Linked DNA regions of Homo sapiens: all the other regions are linked to region 3. Evidence: promoter capture Hi-C in human tissues and cell types (Jung and others, 2019). All regions are on one chromosome and are shown on one strand. The core of a region is centred on a gene start or on the middle of the fragment in contact, and the rest is flanking DNA. Distances in the headings are between cores, read along the strand shown.

The links. Contacts are between HindIII fragments. The study calls those that stand out against the background at their distance.
Region 1: a contact is called between a fragment that was not itself captured here and the fragment with the promoter of CFL2 in region 3, in 1 of the 25 tissues and cell types used here (spleen).
Region 2: a fragment that was not itself captured here is called in contact with the fragment with the promoter of CFL2 in region 3 in 1 of the 25 tissues and cell types used here (mesendoderm cells).

Annotation. Positions count from the first base shown.
Region 1 is chr14:35,687,696-35,691,046 of GRCh38, forward strand. It overlaps RALGAPA1 (Ral GTPase activating protein catalytic subunit alpha 1), which reads right to left. Exons shown (of 42, transcript NM_001346249.2): 18 at 764-2,308. Among named protein-coding and RNA genes, the nearest start is that of SNORA101B, 74 kb to the right of the region's middle. The HindIII fragment of the contact is 3,538 bases long and covers 1-3,351 here.
Region 2 is chr14:35,236,503-35,239,907 of GRCh38, forward strand. All of the region lies in intron 5 of PRORP (protein only RNase P catalytic subunit), which reads left to right. All of the region lies in intron 5 of PRORP-PSMA6 (PRORP-PSMA6 readthrough), which reads left to right. Among named protein-coding and RNA genes, the nearest start is that of PSMA6, 54 kb to the right of the region's middle. The HindIII fragment of the contact is 8,663 bases long and covers 1-3,405 here.
Region 3 is chr14:34,713,084-34,716,436 of GRCh38, forward strand. CFL2 (cofilin 2) reads right to left here and starts at 1,510. Exons shown (of 4, transcript NM_138638.5): 1 at 1,455-1,510; 2 at 171-478; 3 at 1-53. The coding sequence starts at 1,457. RefSeq lists silencers at 1,207-1,266, 1,357-1,946. The HindIII fragment of the contact is 13,048 bases long and covers 1-3,353 here.

The DNA.
Region 1 (3,351 bases), core at 458-2,957, 970 kb after region 3:
TTTCTGTTATCTGTCCATAGAGGTTCCATATTTAAATCATGAGTGGCTACTGTGAAACCTTTATGCACATTTAAAATCTCAGAAAAAAACAAAGTAATTAAAGTGTTTCAAGGACATAACTTGCATTCTATATAAATGAATGCAAAACTAAAAGCCTACAGCATGTTTGGAAATGGCTTAAATGAAAAGTGATTAAATTCACTTTGAGATTTAAGAAATAATTTCCTCATCACTGATAGTTAACTATAATGTTGGTGCTGGCTGTAGGACCTTGATTTCTATTATGTTAGTTGTCAAAATAATTTCTATCAAGAAAAAATACAAAACCAAATAGATCAGCAGTAAAAATAAGTGAAATCAGTTAGATATATCTGGTGCCCTTTTAAACTATAGTGGGGTGGGGAAGAAAGCATAGTAACTCCTTGATAATCTTAATTTCCATACTTGTGGTATACACTCAGAAAAATACTTGATTTAGGTAGTCTTTGATAGGTTATTGAAATTTTCCTATATATCCACTTTCCTATGTTGTTGTTCAGCAGCAAAGAGGTTTAACTAAATGCCTTATAAGGGAAATTAGTAATTTAAATAAACATTCTATGCTGGGAAAAATACAGCTGGGAAAAGGCGCATGCATAACCAAACAGAGAGAAAGCAGTGACCATCCCAAAGCTTTTTGATTGCTTATAGCTTGCTTCAGTTGCATTAAGCCAAACTGGTGCTGTCTTTCTCCTTTTGCGCTCTGCACACTGTTAGTGCTCACCTGCAGCTTTCCTTCCAAAATAGCCCATTACATGACTGTACAGATCCCTCAGTGGAGCCTCTGGTGGCATTCTGTTCTGCCTCTGTGGGGAAACATTTGCCTTCGGCTTCGAAAGAGCATGTACAACAGTTTTATAAACGCCACCCAGGGAGCCCTGCTGTAGTCCTGCCTCATGACTTGATGACCTAAGAGTACTACGACTACCTAATTGACTACTTGCAATTCCTTCTTTTTGTAATATGGTGGTGGGAATCTCTGTGGATTCCTTCACTGTTTTGCTGCTTACTGATGCAGTACCAAGTGTATCTAGAGGTCTGTACACACCAGGTTTTACTAGCTCTGTAGCACTATTTGTGCTGGTATGGGTGTTGCTAGTGCTGCTATTGCTGCTACCACTACTAAAGCCACCGAGCTTCCGCAGTCTCATCTTCCATGGAGCCTCTTTGTTTTCCAGAGGATTATAAAACTGAACGGACTCAGTGGATGGCCTAAAAGTAACATGAACACTATTTCGTTTTTTAGTAGCAATTTTCATGATTTTGGCTCTATGAGTTACTGTTTCAGACAAGCTCCTTTTAGTTGGAGAAAGTTTGCTAGTACTTGTAACATGAGGCATTCTGCGGTTAACAGGTGCTTTTAGTGTTGCTTTCTTGGCACGCATAACATGTGGGACAGTGATTTTTTCATTAATTTGCACACTCTTAAGCTTTTCAACTAGTGTTACATCAACACAAGCATCTAATTCTGTGGCTGCTTGTCTGTACAGATGTTTCCTTTTTTCTTTATCACAAGGGCTATCTAAACTAGGCTCTGATGGCTGTTTATCAGTGTTTAGTTGCTTAGATTTTTCAGAAGTTTGTGTTCTAAAAAAACTGTCTGACTGGTTAGGTGCGATATTACTCATGAAGACAGCTGAGTTTGGTTCTTTCTGAAACTGTAGGTTTTCAGGAGTCCCAACAAAAGAGGTGATATTTTCTGATTCAGTTTCCTGATCTGTGCATTCTAATTTATCTAAGGATAATCTTTCACCCCTATTTACTGCAATAGTCACTTCCTGAGAAGCTGGGTCTTTCCCTGTCTCATTTTTACTATGATTTTCCTGGTTTTCCTTAAAATATTCTTTCAGGGTGGAAAGAAGATCATCATCTCCTTCAAGGTCAATGTACTGGATTTGTTCAAAAGCTGAATCTGCAAGTTCTACTGGACCTATTAAATGACAAAGATGGTCATATATGCTATCACCAACTTCCAGAGAAGACTCTCTACTATGAGTATCAGTGATGTGGCTTTCAGTGGATCTAGTTATTGAAGAAGCCTCTGTGGAACTCTGCAAGCTTGGTGCATGACGGGATGAACTGTCAATGACAGGAACTGCACCTTTGGCTCGTTCAACAGTGAATGGTTCCAAGATGTCAGAAGTGCTGCTACTTCGAGGCAATGGCTGCTCCTCATTCAAAGCACCAAAAACTTCATTTCCAGTTTCTTCACTTTGTGAAAAATGTCTGACTCTAGTTGAGCGGGGAAGTATTTGAGCATCATCAATATCTGTAAAAGAAAAAAAAATTATGTAGAGAAGAACTACACAAATATAAAAAATAATTATTAATTTCAATAATGCTCTAAAGCATATGCTTTAAAAAAAATCTGAGTTTTTGTAAGCTCAATGAAAAAAAAATCAAAATACAAATCTGCTTTTTTAAAAAAATGATGGGCACAAGCCAATATAGCATGTAGTGTCAATGAATTAGAAAACTACCAAAACACATTTTAAAATGTTAACATGCATAGAAACAGACAGTGAGGTGATGAAACATTTGGAAGTGCAGATAAAGATAGAGCTGTGCCAATAAATCAAGCAACTCAAATGCTATTAAATTTTTCCTACTTATTTACGTTCCAAGCAGAAAAAATACACCTTAACACAGAAAGCCGATCCAAGTATCCCACTGTAGACTCTTATAGGGTCTAATAAATTCTCCAGCTTCCTTCCCAAAAAGGCAAGAGGCATCTTTTCTTCAAATTTTGCTTCTCTGTTTGATTACATATTAGAAATGAAAGTCTCTACCCTCTTCCTAAATTTCTCTTTGTCAGGAAACTGTTCTCCCCAGGTGTTTTACTTTATTACGTATTAAAATCTTATTCACTGACATCAAATAAAGTCAATATATTTTTTAAAAAATCAATTGTATTCTTTTGTTTTTGGCAAAAACACCACTTAAATCTGCTAGGAAGAAACTTTACCTGCCTGTTATTGGCCCTTTCCATTAAACAGCCATCAAGCTCTAAAAACTATATTTCTGGCTTCTTACATCTCTTTTTAAGAATTATAGGCTGGGCGCGGTGGCTCACACCTATAATCCCAGCACTCTGGGAGGCTGAGGTGGGCAGATCACCTGAGGTCGGGAGTTCAAGACCAGCCTGACCAACATGGAGAAACCCCATCTCTATTAAAAACACAAAACTAGCCGGGCGTGGTGGTGCATGCCTGTAATTCCAGCTACTTGGGAGGCTGAGGCAGGAGAACTGCTTGAACCCATGAGGCAGAGGCTGCGGTGAGCCGAAATAATGCCACTGCACTCCAGCCTGGG
Region 2 (3,405 bases), core at 906-3,405, 520 kb after region 3:
GCTCTCCCTCAGGACAGCAGTAACTTCCTAATTGCCAGTTTTGATGAACATATTTTAGTCTTTATCACTCTTTTTCTGCATTTAATACTTTATAGATTCCTTTCTTCTTGAAATTGTCTATGTCTTTGAATTCTGTGACTTCACATTCTTATCCTTCTCATTACACTCTCTGACCATTCCTTGTTCTCTCTTGTTTTTGAACTTCCCTTCCTTCTCTTACTCCTTAAATGTTGGTGTTCTCTGATGTTCTATCTCTGCATCTTTACCTTAGACAGGTACTTGAAACTAAATACTGTATGTCCAAAACTGAACTTGCCATCTTCCTGCCAGACATCTACACCAATAGGTGGTACCAAATGTTCACCAAGTCTTGCCAATTTTACCTCCTAATTATTTCTCTCTCTCTCTCATCTTCTTTCTTTCTCTCTCTTTCTCCTTCTTTCTTTCATTTTTCTTTTCTTTCTTTTCTTTCCTTTCTTCCTCCCTCCCTCCTTCCCTCCTTCACTCCTTCCTTCCCTCCTTCTCTTCCTTCCTTCTCTTCCTTCCTTTCCTTCCCTTCCTTCCTTTCCTTCCTTCCTTCCTTCTCTCTCTCTCTCTCTTTCTCTCTCTCGACAGAGTCTTGCTCTGTCACCCAGGCTACAGTGCAGTGGCGCCATCACAGCTCACTGCAGCCTTGACCTCCTAGGCTGAAATGATCCTCCTGCCTCTGCATCCTGAGTAGCTGGGACCACAGACGTGCGCCACCACATCCAACTAATTTTTAAATTTTTCGTAGAGACAAAGTCTCCCTATGTTGCCCAGGCGGATCTCAAACTCCCAGACTCAAGCGATCCTCCCACCTAGACCTCCCAAAGTGCTGGGGTTACAGGCATCAACCACTATGCCCAGCTCTGTTTCTCAAATCCATTCTTTTCTCTTCTTCTTTTACCATATCTTTCTCATCAGATCCTTGTTAGTACCTGCTTAAATCCCTATCATAGCCTCCTAACTGGTTTCTCATCTTCAGTTTTGTTTCTTTCAAATCTATCCTCTTCCACAGGCAAAAATGACCATGTAACTTAAATCAATTTACAGTTAATGTTTTGACTAGGGAGATATCTGAATATATTAAAATATTTATAGTTCCCCTTTCCAATTTTGCCTTTTCACCTTCTTAAACTTCTATTTTTTATTTGAGACAGCGTCTTGCTCTGTTGCCCAGACTGGAGTACAGTGGTGCTATCTCGGCTCACTGCAACCTCTGCCTCCCGGGTACAAGAGATTCTCCTGCCTCAGCCTCCGCTGGGACTACAGGCGTATGCCACCAAGCCCGGCTAATTTTTTTTGTATTTCTAGTAGAGACGGGGTTTCACTGTGTTAGCCAGGATGGTCTTGATCTCCTGACCTTGTGCTCCACCCACCTCGGCCTCCCAAAGTGCTGGGATTACAGGCATGAGCCACCGTGCCTGGCCTTAAATTTTTAAATTAGATATAATATCTGTTCATTAAGTCAAACAAACAAAACTCTAAATACAGTGCACATAGCCATTCTAAGTTAACACATCTTTTTTTTTTTTCTCTGCGTTTTATGTGAAGGGCCAGAAACCAAACACTGTATTAAAGGTGGGCACTGTGCTTAAACAATCCTATGAAGAAATTAGATTCTCATTTTACAAATGAGAAAACTGAGGTGCAATTAAGTCACTTCCCTGAATCGTTAATAAAAGTAACAGATTCAGAATTGAAATGCCAATCTGACACCAAAGTCTGTGGTCTTTTACCGTGCCGCACTATCATGCCCTGTGGTATGCATTTGTAATTCCCAAACCCACATATCTAGACCGCCCCTCACTGGGTAGTTCTCTGGATTTGTTTACACCTGTAGGTTTGGACAGCCTACCAATGCCAGAAATTAGGATTTGGAGGATGAGTATGTATAGGAAAATGACACAAAGAAAGCCAGGTTGTAGGAAAGTTAACCTGGCAATGTCACAGGAGAAACAGCATTGAAAGACCAACCAAAAGACCTAATGACATCTTGAACTAAAGTGATGACAGTGGAATCTAAAAAAGAGGAAAAGAATGTGCTTAAAGGAATGAAAGTCTAGGACTTTGGGAAAAATATGTCAACTCTGTTGTCATTAAACCTCTTAATTCTCTTAAAATCTTAACCTTTTTAAGATTAAGATTCATTAAGTGAAACAAACAAAACTCTTTAAATACAGTGCACATAGCCATTCTAAGTTAACACGTCTTTTTTTCTCTGCATTTTATCTGAAGGGCCAGAAACCAAATACTCTTATTAAAGCTGGACACTGTGCTTAAGCAGTCCTATGAAGTAAGGCATATCAAAGCTTTTTTAAGGCATCACAAGGCTATATATAAATGTATGACATTGTGCTTTTACAGCCTAACAATAACAACACGTAGTCTTTTACAGCTTATAGAGTCCTTTCATTAATATTAAGTGATTTGATCCTCACACATCCCTATGGACTAAGTGTTGTATTTTTCTTACTTTACATATAAGGAAACTGGCTTAAAAGGCTGTGACTTGCCCAGAGGTAACAGCTCTCAAAACACTACACTAGGCCAGGTGTGGTGGTGGCTCACGGCTATAATCCTAGCACTTTAGGAGGCGAGGCGGGCGGATCTCTTGAGGTCAGGAGTTCAAAACCAGCCTGGCCAACATGGTGAAACCCCGTCTCTACTAAAAATACAAAAAAATTAGCCAGGTGTGGTGGCAGGTGCCTGTAATCCCAGCGACTTGGGAGGCTGAGGCAGGAAAACCCAGAGGCGGAGGTTGCAATGAGCCAAGATTGCAACACCGCACTCCAGCCTGGGTGACAGAGTAAGACTCCGTCTCAAGAAAAAAAAAAAAAAAACAAACTACACTAAATCCACTTCCTATGCTTTCTCCAGAGATGTCTGCTTCCCTAAAAACAAACAATATTTTTTCAAAGTACATGATCAAGGTGGAGCCCCTTTTCTCCTCAGCATTTGAATACCAGCTTATAATTAAGAGTTTATTAGATCAGGCAACGAGCTGGTGAAGAACAAGAACAGACTACTGTATAGTGTTCATAAAATTAGATGGCTGGTCTAAATTTTAGAAACAAGATTCTCGTGACCTTTGACAGGTTACATGTACATGACACATTGTTTCTTTGGCATTTCAGACGTTGCCTGCAAGCATTCTGTGAATGAAGCCATACCAGTGTCATGCCAAATCATGAACTGTCCTGCCCTGTACAACTAAAGAAAACCAAGGGTCTTCTGCTCTGGCCTCTATAGAATAAATTAGAAAAGTTGGCTGGGCACGGTGCCCCATGCTTGTAATCCCAGCACTTTGGGAGGCAGAGGCGGGCAGATCACCTGCGGTCAAGAGTTTGAGACCAGCCTGGCCAACATGGTGAAACCTTGTCT
Region 3 (3,353 bases), core at 260-2,759:
CTTTAGAGCTAGCATAAATCATCTTGCTTTTTAAAGGTGCACTTTCAGGAGCCCTACAGAAAAAAAAAAAATTATTGAATCCCATTTATAAGAAAAACAAAGGTAAGACTGACTATGATAATAATAATCCTTGCATTTTAAAAGTACTTTTTTCTTTTGTTTTTACACACCAGAATATAAATACTAGGTCTTCTTTCTTAGACTCTTTTGTTTCGTATGTGGCATCGTACAAAGCATATCGGCAATCATTCAGAGGTAGCAACTTCACAAAAGATGTGTAGGGGTCCTCTACAGTATCACCAATGTCACCCACCAAGATCTGCTTTGCTTCCTCTACAATTATTTGTCTTTTGTCATCGCTTAAACAGAAGAGAACTGCTTTCTTTCTCTTTTTGATCTCCTCTTGTGTAGAAGATTTCCTTACTTTCATATCATTAAAAACTTTGATGACTTCATCATTCACTGTAACTCCAGAAGCCTGAAAATAAACACAGAACAGTAATTCAGAACACGTATTTTGGTTTTAACCAAAATTACTGTTTGCCTAGAGAAGACTCACTTTAGTCTGGACATCAAAAATTGCACCGTACCATGTAAGTCGTCCAATCAGATTTGTCACATTTTAAGAATCAGTAGACGATACAGCGAAGGAGTCTAACTCATCCTGCCCATTCATCCTTCTTAAAGGGGTTTGGACGTGGAAGCGAAAGGGACAAATACAAGTTGTCCCATCCCTGAAATGTTTCCTATTTCACTGGGTGATGTCAGAGCTTCAGGAGTGGCAGCAAAAATACCTTCTGTATTGTGTCAACTCGGCTGGCCTTAAAAAAACACTTTTGGATTTCAGTTAATGCTTCTACTATTTTTTTCTTTAAAGTCATCCTAGCCACTGACGTTTCCTCATAAGGAAAGAGAATCAAGTGTAAACTCCAAACCGCCCACGGCCCACACACAGCTCACATGCAGACACTCCAAAACTAACTGATCGAGTGTAAAAGCTTTTACGGCGAGAAAGCATTTTAAAAAGTGTTTTCCCTCTTCCTTAATCTCCCCGTAAGGGTTTTATTACAGGCCGTCCAGACCCTGACCCACACAGCGTTCGCAGCACGTACCAATTTTAAAGCCTCGCGTGTTAAGTAAAATTAGGAAGCGAAGGGCAAAGGCGGCGCGAGCGGCTGCAGTCCGCAGACCCTCTCGCGCCCCCGCCCGCCCGGCCCCGACCCCCAACCTGCGCCGACGCCCGGGCCCTCCCCGCCCCCCAAAATCCAAAGAGCAGCAGGGCAGGGCCTGACGGCCGGAGGGCAGGCCGGTCGGCTGGAGAGCAGCGGAGCCGCAGAGCAGAAGCGCCCACCTTGGAGGCCAAAATCAGGTTAAAATGGCGGCCTCACTCCCGGGGCCGTGCGGGGGGCTTTTCTCGCCTCGCCGCGGCCTCCCGGCCAGCGCGCTCGTCTTACCATAGTGCCCTCGGCTGTGGCTGCGGCGGCAGCTCGGGCTTCGGCTCTGTGGCACTGGGAGGAGAAGGAGGGGCGGGCGAGCGGGTGGGCAGCGGAGAGTGCGGGGCACGCCGGGAGCTGCAGCCCGAGGGAGGTGGCGGGGCTCGGCGGGCCGCAGGCAGCGGGCGGGGCGGTCACGTGGGCACGCCTGGTCCCCAGCCGGCGCCACCCGCTCCCAGGCCGGCCCTTCTGTCTCGCGGCCCCGGCTCCCCGGCTGTCCGCGTCCTCGGCCTGACCTCAGAGCGCGAGCCCTGCAGGCCGGGGGGGGCGACGCGGTGGTAGCGGAGCCCGGGAGCCTGGCAGAGCCGCCTCCAGCCCCCGAGCATCACCCGTCAAGCCGGTGGGAGAGAGTGCTGGGCTCCCAGAGGGGCGTTTCCACCGCCTCCGTAGGGCCCTGCGCCAGGGGTGGGTGCGTGTGAGGGGAACTCCTGCGAAGGTGTCTTTCCTTATTTACCTGTGGTTTTCCCGAAAGAGGCTGGATTTCGACATTTTGAGTCTTTTTGGAAAACCCCCAGTTGTTTAGAGATAAATGAGAATAAATACTACACGAGATTGCTCCAGTTGATAGTACTTAGCAAAAACAAAATGATACGCAGTGTTGGTAAATCACTTTTCAAAACTCTGGTTGAAATAATAATTATGATTAAAAAATTACGTGGTAGCATTCCTTAGTAATATCCTTTTACATTTTAGACTTCATAGGAAATGGATTGTACTCTCTCTTAGAGATTTCATGAAGCTCCAGCTATGACAGCTGATATCAAATAAGCCGACGCAGCCTCTTCTAGCAAAGCCCATATAACTGCGCCAAGGCAGTTTCTCTTTTTTTAATCTTAACTCCTCCATACCTCAGGGTTCTTCATGTGTAAAACAAACTGTTATTAAATTATCGTTAAGGCCCTTTCCAGCTTTAGATTTCAGTTTCTGAGTATATCAATGTTCAGTAGGAAATGGTGTGTTTTTGGTGGTCTCAGGATTGAGGTTAGGCAGGAAAGTCATGAGATGGTGTTTGCCCTAGATTGCGTGATAAGTTCTTTCAGCCCAAATTTACTGTATTTTAAATGGAACATGCTAGGCATTGAAACAGACCTATTTTTCTGTCTATATCTTGGGTTTGTTTTCTTAATTGGAAGATAGACTTCGTTTAGAGACAAAAATTGAGAAGGGATTTCCCAATGTCTAAGCATGAATCCCAAGCAAGTGGATAATACTTTATATCTAGCTGGTACATTACAATTTATGGAACCTTTCACTTTATCTGTTGAACTTCCAAGAAGTCATGGAGAATGTCTCTCCAGAGCTCTGATCATCTGCTATGTGTAGGTATTAGCAAATTCCTGTTCGCTTCATCTTGCGGTTACCTTCCCTTCCCAACCTCAGAGATTTGCAGCAGCCCCAGCAGAGACCAGGTCTGATGACACTGGGGCCTAAAGTGGGTGTCAGAACCTTACCCACCAAAGCTGGGGATTCCAAAGATGCTAGTCACCCCCTAGCTCGGACTCCAACCCCTTTCCATGCCTCCCATTCTCTCTTACCCTCCCCAAACAGAGATGGTAATTCACATGTTCTAAGATTCTTTTCCTGAAGTTATTTTTGTCTTGCATATATTTTGTTACATTATAATAACTTGTTTATGTCTTCTGCCACCCTACTGCGCTGTAAGCTCCTTAAGGATCTGAGTCCTGGTTATCTTTGAATTTCTGGAACCTGACAGATAGTAGGTGCTTAATAGGTGCTGAAATAATACATTTAAGATGCTTTAGTGCTGTAAAGAGAATGAAAAGGAAGCTTCTGAAAATTGTGAAGCCTTTCTACATGCCCTTGTGAGCATGGCACTGAGAATGTCAGGGCCAGTAGCAG